Linked DNA regions of Homo sapiens: all the other regions are linked to region 2. The links are contacts of gene promoters, found by promoter capture Hi-C in human tissues and cell types (Jung and others, 2019). All regions are on one chromosome and are shown on one strand. Each heading gives the region's core, a stretch centred on a gene start or on the middle of the fragment in contact. The rest is flanking DNA. Distances are from core to core; before and after follow the strand shown.

The links. The method cuts DNA at HindIII sites, captures the fragments that hold promoters and counts their contacts. A contact is called where the count stands out against the background at its distance.
Region 1: a contact is called between a fragment that was not itself captured here and the fragment with the promoter of C9orf152 in region 2, in 3 of the 25 tissues and cell types used here (dorsolateral prefrontal cortex, lymphoblastoid cells and spleen).
Region 3: a fragment that was not itself captured here is called in contact with the fragment with the promoter of C9orf152 in region 2 in 1 of the 25 tissues and cell types used here (aorta).

The regions. Positions count from the first base shown.
Region 1 is chr9:110,631,568-110,634,667 of GRCh38, forward strand. No RefSeq gene overlaps it. Among named protein-coding and RNA genes, the nearest start is that of MUSK, 36 kb to the right of the region's middle. The HindIII fragment of the contact is 6,286 bases long and covers 1-3,100 here.
Region 2 is chr9:110,206,840-110,209,777 of GRCh38, forward strand. C9orf152 (chromosome 9 open reading frame 152) reads right to left here and starts at 1,320. Exons shown (of 2, transcript NM_001012993.3): 1 at 548-1,320. The coding sequence starts at 740. RefSeq lists enhancers at 1-489, 490-990. The HindIII fragment of the contact is 9,571 bases long and covers 1-2,938 here.
Region 3 is chr9:109,828,932-109,831,635 of GRCh38, forward strand. The region is part of intron 1 of PALM2AKAP2 (PALM2 and AKAP2 fusion); the gene reads left to right. Among named protein-coding and RNA genes, the nearest start is that of PALM2AKAP2, 50 kb to the left of the region's middle. RefSeq lists an enhancer at 1,448-1,617. The HindIII fragment of the contact is 7,612 bases long and covers 1-2,704 here.

The sequences.
Region 1 (3,100 bases), core at 538-3,037, 430 kb after region 2:
CTTGTCTAGCTTCATTTAAAAGCTTGCTGCTGTTTGTATTGAGAGTGCACTAAATTTATCCATTAACTTAGAGAAAGCTGATGTATTTATGATGTTGAATCATTCCAAGAACAAAGAATATTTTTCCAATTGTTCAAATCTCCTTTTGTGTTTTAAACACAAGTGTTTTGAAGTGTTCCTCATATAAATTTTACACATTTCCTATTAACTATATTTCTAAGTATTTTACTTTTGTTGCTATTGTGAACAGGGTTTTAAAATACATATATACATACACATACACAAACACACATCTTTATTCTTTAGAACACATATTCTAATACATATATGTAGATTTATATATACAGAGATGGAGAATATATATACTTTAAAAAGTATTCATCAGTTCTTATTTTCTTGAGTGTTTTCATCAGACAAATATTTGTTTTTATCTAAGACTTTTTTCATTATCTATGAATATAATCAAGGCTTATTATTACAAGTGTTATTTGAATAAATTTCTTAATATTGAATCAATCTTGCATCCTTGGAAAAAAATCTACTTGATTGTAGCATATTGTTTTCTTAATGTGTTTGATTCTGTTTATTAATATTTTATTTAGAAACTTTGCATCAATATTGATAAATAATATTAGTATCTTTAATTTCATACTTTCTTTACTAGATTTAGGTATCAGGTTTAGGCAATGGAAAACATATAGAGGCTGGTCTATGAAAATCTGGTAGAACTTTCTGGCAATTGTTTATTGGTTCTGTCTTTATCACTTTTTCTATTTCTTCATGGAAATTAATCTGTTTAAGCTTTGTATGTCTCATAGGTAATTTTTGTAACCTGTATTTCTGCGTAGGTAGAATCGTGTCCCTCCCACCCTGTCCCCAGGTCCATAAAAAAAGATACGTTCAAGTCCTAAACTTCAGCGCCTGTGAATGTGACTTTACTTGTAAAGGCTTTTTGCAAATGTATTAGGTGGTACAAAAGTAATTGCGATTTTTGCATTGTTGAAATTTGCTGTTTGATACTGGAATACATTCTTAAATTTGATTATGTTAGACATCATTTTAACGCACATTTCTCACTTTATGTTTTTTGCTAATGACTTACTACTTGCTGTTTATTTTATATGTATTTTAGACTATGGAAATGATGTCAGACAAAAAACAAATTTGATCGATTTTCTTAATTGAGTTCAAAATGTTTAAGCAGCCGAAACAACTCGCAACGTCAACAATGCATTTGGCCCAGGAACTGCTAACAAACCTACAGTGCAGTGGTGGTTCAAGACGTTTTGCAAAAAAGACAAGAGGCTTGAAGATGAGGAGCATAGTGGCTAACCATCAAAAGTTGACAAAAACCAATTGAGAGCAATTATCGAAGCTTATCCTCTTACCAATACACAAGAGGTTGCTGAAGAACTCAACGTCGACCATTCTGTGGTTGCTCAGCATTTGCAGCAAATTGGAAAGGTGAAAAAGCTCAGTAAGTGGGTACCTCATGAGCTGAGCGAAAAATTTTTAAAAACCCTCATTTTTGAAGTGTACTCTTCTCATTCTACATCACAACAATGAACCATTTTTCAATCAAATCGTGACATGCAATGAAAAATGGATTTTATATCACAATTGGTGACGACCAGTTCAGTGGATGGGCTGAAAAGAAGTTCCAAAGCACTTCCCAAAGCCAAACTTGCACCGAAAAAAAGGTCATGGGCCCTGTTGGTGGTCTGCTGCGGGTCTGATTCACTACAGCTTTCTGAATGCTGGCAAAACCATTACATCTGAGAAGTATGCTCAGCAAATCGATGAGATGCACCAAACACGGGCAGCCAGCATTGGTCAACAGAAAGGGCTCAATTCTCCACAACAATGCCCAACCATTTATCGCATAACCAACACTTCGAAGTTTTGCCTCATCCACTATTCACTTTACCTCTCACCAACCGACTACCCTTTTTCAAGCACCTTGACAACTTTTTGCAGGGAAAACACTTCCACAACCAGCAGGATGCAGAAATTCCTTTCCAAGAGTTCATCGAATCCTGAAACATGAATTTTTATGTTATAGGTATAAACAAATTTATTTCTCGTTGGCAAAAATGTGTTGATTGTAATGGTTCCTGTTTTGATTAATAAATATGTGTTTGTGCCTAGTTATAATGATTTAAAATTCATAATCCAAAACTGTGATTATTTTTGCACCAACCTTTTGTATTTCCCTTTTGCCCATTCTGCAAAAATCATTTAATGTAAGGCTTTTAAATTCCCAGTTGAACCTTTATTTGTTGCTAATAATTTTTAGTTCTTGGCTTTGTGATAAGAGAATATGTAATATTTCTAGTTCATGTTACTGACTTTTTGTATGTGTAACATGATCTCAAAGTCAATTTTTGTGACTTCCATTTACACTTCAGTAGGTGCACTCTCCATTAACAGAGTTTAAAGTTTTGTATAGCCTTAAAATCTACCCCATTTATTATGTTGTTTAGGTCTTTTATCTTATTTATTTTTTGTCAACTTAATCTGTCTTATGTGGAGAATACTGAGCTAAAGTTATAATGAGTGTATTTCCACTTATGTCTTCTTGCATTGTTGTAGTTTTTGCTTCAGTGAGGGAATTCTGTTATTTAGTGCATAGATATTCATAAATATAACTTTATTGTGAATTATGGTTCATTCTAGCATTAAGAAGTGAATTATGGTTCATTCTAACATAAAGAAGTGTCATTTTTATACCTTTAATGCTTATAAAATTGAATTTTTCTTTGTCTAATGTCAGAATTGCTACACCTGCCTCCCTGACAGATTCCATTTGCCTGGTATGCCTTTGTCTATCTCTTTATTTTTATCCTTTGAGTCACTTATTTTAGAGACGTCTCTTGTGTGTCCGTATAGTTGGTTCTTGTTTTGTGAGTCAAATTGGAAGTCTTTTCCTATTAATATATGGGTCAAGTCCATTCACGTTTATTAGTAAGTGTGATTGTCTAGTCTCACAACTACATATTATTTGTCATAATTATGCATTTTATGTTATAATTGCTGAGTTTTTCCTTTACTATATTTTTTTTGCTGTTTTACCTTTACAATTTCTTTGGCTATTTAGAAA
Region 2 (2,938 bases), core at 70-2,569:
GAATGAAATCTGAGTTCCTAAAGGGAGGAGGTTTCTCCCCATGAGGGGGTTTCTGTGTCCAATCACACCTCCCTGCCTGATGTTTGAGGCTGGATGAGCCTGGGATGCCTCATGGGTCTCTGAGCCCTAGGCGTCCTCTGGCCCAGACAGTTCCCAGGCTGTTGGGAACGCCATGTCTTCTACCTCCAGAGTGAATTTCTCTGGTTTGTAGGAGGTGCCTTAGTTAGACCCAGCCAGGAAGCAGAGCTCCTATCGCCATACCTGGGCTAGCAGGGGGGCCAAGCCTGGCTCACCAGGCTGACCAGTCTAGCAAGATTAGAACATCAGAGCAGAGGCCAGGAACAGTGCTGGCAGCCAGGTGCTTGGCTGAGGCCCCTGGCTCCCTTAGCAGGTGGGACAGCTGAGCAGAGCTGCCCTGAGCCCGCCTCCCCTGCTCTTCCCCACTGGGAGGGAGGGCTGGCAAAGCCCTGGCTCTGCCTCCCTGCAGCTCTGCCACTCAGGTCTCCCATGGTAAGTCTCTCCTTCCCCAGCACCTGTCCATTCCTACCTTTTGGAAGCACCAGGAGGTGGGCCTGGGTCCTCTGCTGCCTCTTCAAGCCTTCATACTGGGCTCGCAGGAACTGGATGCTGAGTGGGGGCCCTTTCCCAGGGGCCTGAGTCCTGGAGCCCTCAGCCATTAAGTGAGACCTAAGCTGCCAGAAGTGGGGCAGGGCTGGGCACGGGCAGGGCAACCCCTCCATCCGGATCCGGGAGAAAAGCAAACACAGCTGGGTGGGGCAGGACCTGGGGAGGGGAGAGAGAGGGAGGGGGCAGTGAGGGAGAAGGAGAAGTGACGGGCAAAAGGAGGGTGGAAAGAGGAGTGGGACTGAGGAAGGAGATAGAAAAATAAGGGGGAAGGAGAAAGATGAAGGGGAAGAGGAGGTAGGGATAGGGAGAAATGTGGGGGAGGAGAAAGGTGGGAGACAGTGGCAGTAAGAGGAGAAGGAAATGTCAGAGGAAAGAAGGGGCAGCGAAGGGGGAAAGACTGGAGGAAGGAGGTGATAGTGACAAGCGGGGATTAATGGGGCGAGAGAAGAAAGAGAGGGAGGAAGATGGAGACAGGCAGGAGGAGGCAGGGAAAGGAGTGATGGGGAGTGGGAGACCGAGAAGTAAGGGGAGGACTGGGGGAGCAAAGAGAAAGGCAAGCCCAGCTGCTCAGAGCCCTTCAGGGGGGTCAAGAAGGTGTCTTATTCCAGGTCCTTCCATTGCTTGATCCTAAAGTTTAGAATCCAATTCCCAGTGCCACGGTGAAGTCTCCCCTTTCCTGGCAGAGCTGGGACTGGGGCTGGGGAGTGCTAAGCTCGCGCTCTGCTCACACATTTTGGACTGGAACGTGGCCACTTTTCAGCAAACCTGCCGGTTGGGTTTGCAGTAGTTCAAAGAACACCCTCGGGAGCTTCACAAGGTCGGTGCCTCTGGATGTGTGCCCCGCGGCCACACCCTAAAGAAACCCAGTAGCAAAGATCTCCCCAAGATCTCCACTCAGACCCCAACACACACCCCAGGTGAAAATTCAGCCCTAAAGTCAGCCATGGGACAGAGCCCAGGGGAATCTTGGCCTCGGGCCAGCCCTACCCCTTGGACATTTGGTGCAGCCTCTGCCGTCTCAGCATTCTCCAACCAAGTGGTAAGTTAGGCATCCCCTCACTCTCTGCTTGCCAGCCTCAACATTTCCACATTGCTTTTGAATCCCAGACCCTCTCCCTCTTACACCAGCTTTGACCTAGCCTTGCTGCATTTGGTCAACTAAGTCCCTTTCTATCTTCTCCTATCACGGTGCTTACTGATTACCCAATTACCCAATATGTCTACAGAGGCAATGGAAACAGAGTAGAGCCTGAACCTACAAGACATTTTGGACATTAACCAGACAAGATCTAGTCATTTGATGTGGGGGAGCCGTGGAAGATGGAGAGCAAATCTTCACTGGGTAGTATATGTTAGTTTTGCTAGGGCTGCCATAACGAAATCCCACAAACTGGATGTCTTAAACAACAAACATTATTGTCTCAGAGTTCTGGAGGTTAGAAGTCCAAAGTCAAGGTGTGAGCAGGGTTGGTTTCTTCTTGGAGCTGTGTGAGAGTATCTGTTCCATGCCTCTCACCTTGCTTCTGATGGTTTGCTAGCAATCTCTGGTATTCTTTGGCTTGCAAAAACATTGCCTAATCTCTGCCTTTATCTTGACATGATGTTCTTCCTTTTTATTTTTTTATTTTATTTTTTTTTTGAGAGGGAGTCTCACTCTGTCGCCCAGGCTGGAGTGCAGTGGCGTAATCTCAGCTCACTGCAAGCTCTGCCTCCCGGGTTCGCATCATTCTCCTGCCTCAGCCTCCCGAGTAGCTGGGACTACAGGCACCCGCCACCGCGCCCAGCTAATTTTTTGTATTTTTCGTAGAGACAGGGTTTCACCGTGGTCTCGATCTCCTGACCTTGTGATCCGCCCGCCTTGGCCTCCCAAAGTGCTGGGATTACAGGCGTGAGCCACCACACCCGGCCTAATATGATGTTCTTCCTATGTGGGTGTCTCTGTGCCCAATTTTCCCCTTTTTATAAGTACAGCAATCACATTGGATTAGAGCTCAATCTGTCTCAAAAAAATACCGAGAGAGATAGCCAAAGCTTCCTCATACCTTTTTATCGGTAGATCACTCTATCATGAAGGCAAGAGCAACCCATCCATGCTGGACCAGCTGCACCTGCCATGAAATCATGGCAGTAGACATCATGGCAGTAGGCTGGCCACAATGGCTCACAACTGTAATCCCAGCACTTTGGGAGGCTGAGGTGGGTGTATTGATTGTGCCCTGGAGTTCAGGACCAGCCTGGGCAACATAGTGAAACTCTGTATCTACAAAAATTAGCCAGGCATGGTGGCACATGCCTGTAGTCCGAGCTACTC
Region 3 (2,704 bases), core at 175-2,674, 380 kb before region 2:
ATGATGTGATGTTGGGGTGTAGAAGTTTTTTGACAGTGGACTCTTTTATCACAGAATGTGAGGTGAGGCAGAGGAAATATGATTCATGTTATAGTGCTTTAGTTATTGATTACATAGGAGTTTGCTTTCTCCAGCTCTTGTTCATAGCTGCTAACTGGCATACAGAGGAAATATTGTTTACTTATTTAAATAATTTTTAAGATAGTGAAAATTCTGTATGTTTGGTTAAATTATACTTGGTTGTTTGCATAGGCTGTCTCTCCCTGAGACGCTCACCTCACTTCTCTATGGGTCAGCGAAACACATACCCTGTGTAATCACCTCCCCTATAAAACCCCATGGCAACCTCTTCCAACAATTCATCCTTTGCATTCCATCCAAGTATGTCTTGTTATATCCATAGCATTTAGTGCATTTATTATTTCCTCTCCTGCTTTCCTCTACTAGATTTTGAGAGCCTTAAGGACTAGAGAGTGACTGATTCATCCTTGTTTCCCCAGCACCCTGGAGCAAAGAGCCCAGCACATAGTAGTTGCTTGTGGTGAATGTAATTCAGGGTGTCTTAGGACTATCCTGCTCATTATGAATAGAGGATAAAAACAGATTTCTAAGTTCTCCATCTGCCATAAAATTCTGGGAAGAAAAAATATGAAGTATTCCTTTCTGCACACACAGAAGTCTTCCATTTTGCAATTTTCTATCTAGTCTGCTGTCCTTTCTCTCTCTTCTTTATCAGGGCTACACATCCTCTCTCCTGGCCAGAGCGTCATTTGAGGCGTGCTTATGCAGTTCTCATTGTCTTCAATTAAGGTTTGGGACTGAGATTACCAGCTTGGCTTGGTAACCCTGTTCACTTATTAAAAAATCAGTCGATCCTTCATTTTTATGAAAAGATGCAATGCAAAATAACCTTGATTTAGAATTTAATGAGGCTGACATTTAACCTGAGTTCAGTTAGGAAGACAAACAAAAAACACAGACAAAGTTGAGAGAAGGAAAATAATTACCTACTTGAATAGTGTGGGCAATTCTCCATCCATATGCCCCAGGAGAATATGAGGTGGGAGATGCATGAATTACCTGAAATTTCTTTTAGCCTCTGTTTATGATTTTAGTCTTTCAAGATGCAGGTATGTTTTTCAGGCCTTGTGGTCCCCAAACACAAGGAAACTTTCTTTATCTGATGGTCAAAAGAAGTGACGACCTAGTCCTTAGTAGGAGAAAAATGTGCCTGCATGGACTCTTTGTGAGACAGTGTTGTTGGATACTTTATGAACATTTTAAGGGATTCTCATGAGTAATTTTGATTATAGACGATTTTTACTTTATGCATTGACTAGGAACCAAATGCAACTTTCTTAGAGAGACACAAAATTCATTGTCCAAATAGACCATAGGGTCAGCAGGCTTTGTAAACATGTTTTGTATGTGCCTAGGGGTTGAGAGCAGGGGCGGGAGAGGTTCTGGTCCGTTCATCAAACCAGGGGCTGGTGTTAATGTTTGATCAACAAAACACATGTAGGCCTAGGCTCTGATCTAGGTCCAACTGCCAACATAGCCTTTTCATGCCTGCCTTTCCTACTTCAGGTAGAGAGAGGAGAAAAAACCTATTGAGGAAAAAAGAAAGAATAATATTAGCCCAAGCAGTGGTTCTACTCACTTAAGGAGAATGGAGTATGTTTATTTAATTTTAACTGAAAAGTCCTGGCCAATATTTCTAAGCCTGGCTTGGGATAACAGAATGAATGGCCTTGGGGGAGAGGGAGGAGAAAGAAGATGACTGATTTTAGTGTCTGCTTTATGGTGTGTGCTGTTTAATCCTCATGACAATCCTAAGTGGAAGGAAGAACTCCCCATGTTACCAGTGACGCAGCGGAAGCCCAGGTGCTACTGAAGGTCACGCAGTCAGCATTGACGAAGTCTACACTAGAATCCAGGCCTGACACAACCCAAAGTCTGTATTTTTTCCCTCTGCAGTCTCTTAAAATTGGCAAAAGGTAAACCTTCATGCGACCCTAGATTTGATTGGAACAGCAGATTTAGGGGTCATGCAACAGGAGAATGAGTGGATTATAAGTTTTTGAGTCCCCAGATCTTTGGGGAGAAAACCCAATTCTGTTGAAGTAGGAGCTGTTCAATTGGAGGTGAGATTTTTAGTAGGGATTTCTAATGCATTCTTTTTTCCCATTGATGGTTGTTAATACTTCCCCTACACACACACACACACACACACACACACACACACACACACAAGCATAAATAGGGCACACGTATTCTCCCATGTAAGGGCTGCTGTCCCTTCTCCCTCCCACTTATAGCGATGTGTGCCTCTCTGTAGCTGAAGGTTGCCTTGTATTAGGACACTGACTGATGAGTACTCCCCACCAGGGTCCGGAGAGTGTGCTTCATTCACCTTTCAGCCTCTCACAGTTCTGGCACAGGGGAGATAAAGATGTTGATGGTTTGAGGTGCTTTTTGGTAAATAACATAGGCAAACACTTGACACCCCTAGGCTACCACCTGTCCTGTTGTGTGGATACCTATTCAGTGAAGCCAGATAACTTTTACAAATCACAATGAATACATCCTCAGCAGAGCCAGTTGCCTGAGGGAGGTTACTGAATCTTCTGGGAGTCGTTTGCAGGCCTTTAGACACTGGGCTCCTTTCTGGACCATGCCCAAACTAGTGACAGATGCAGTCAGA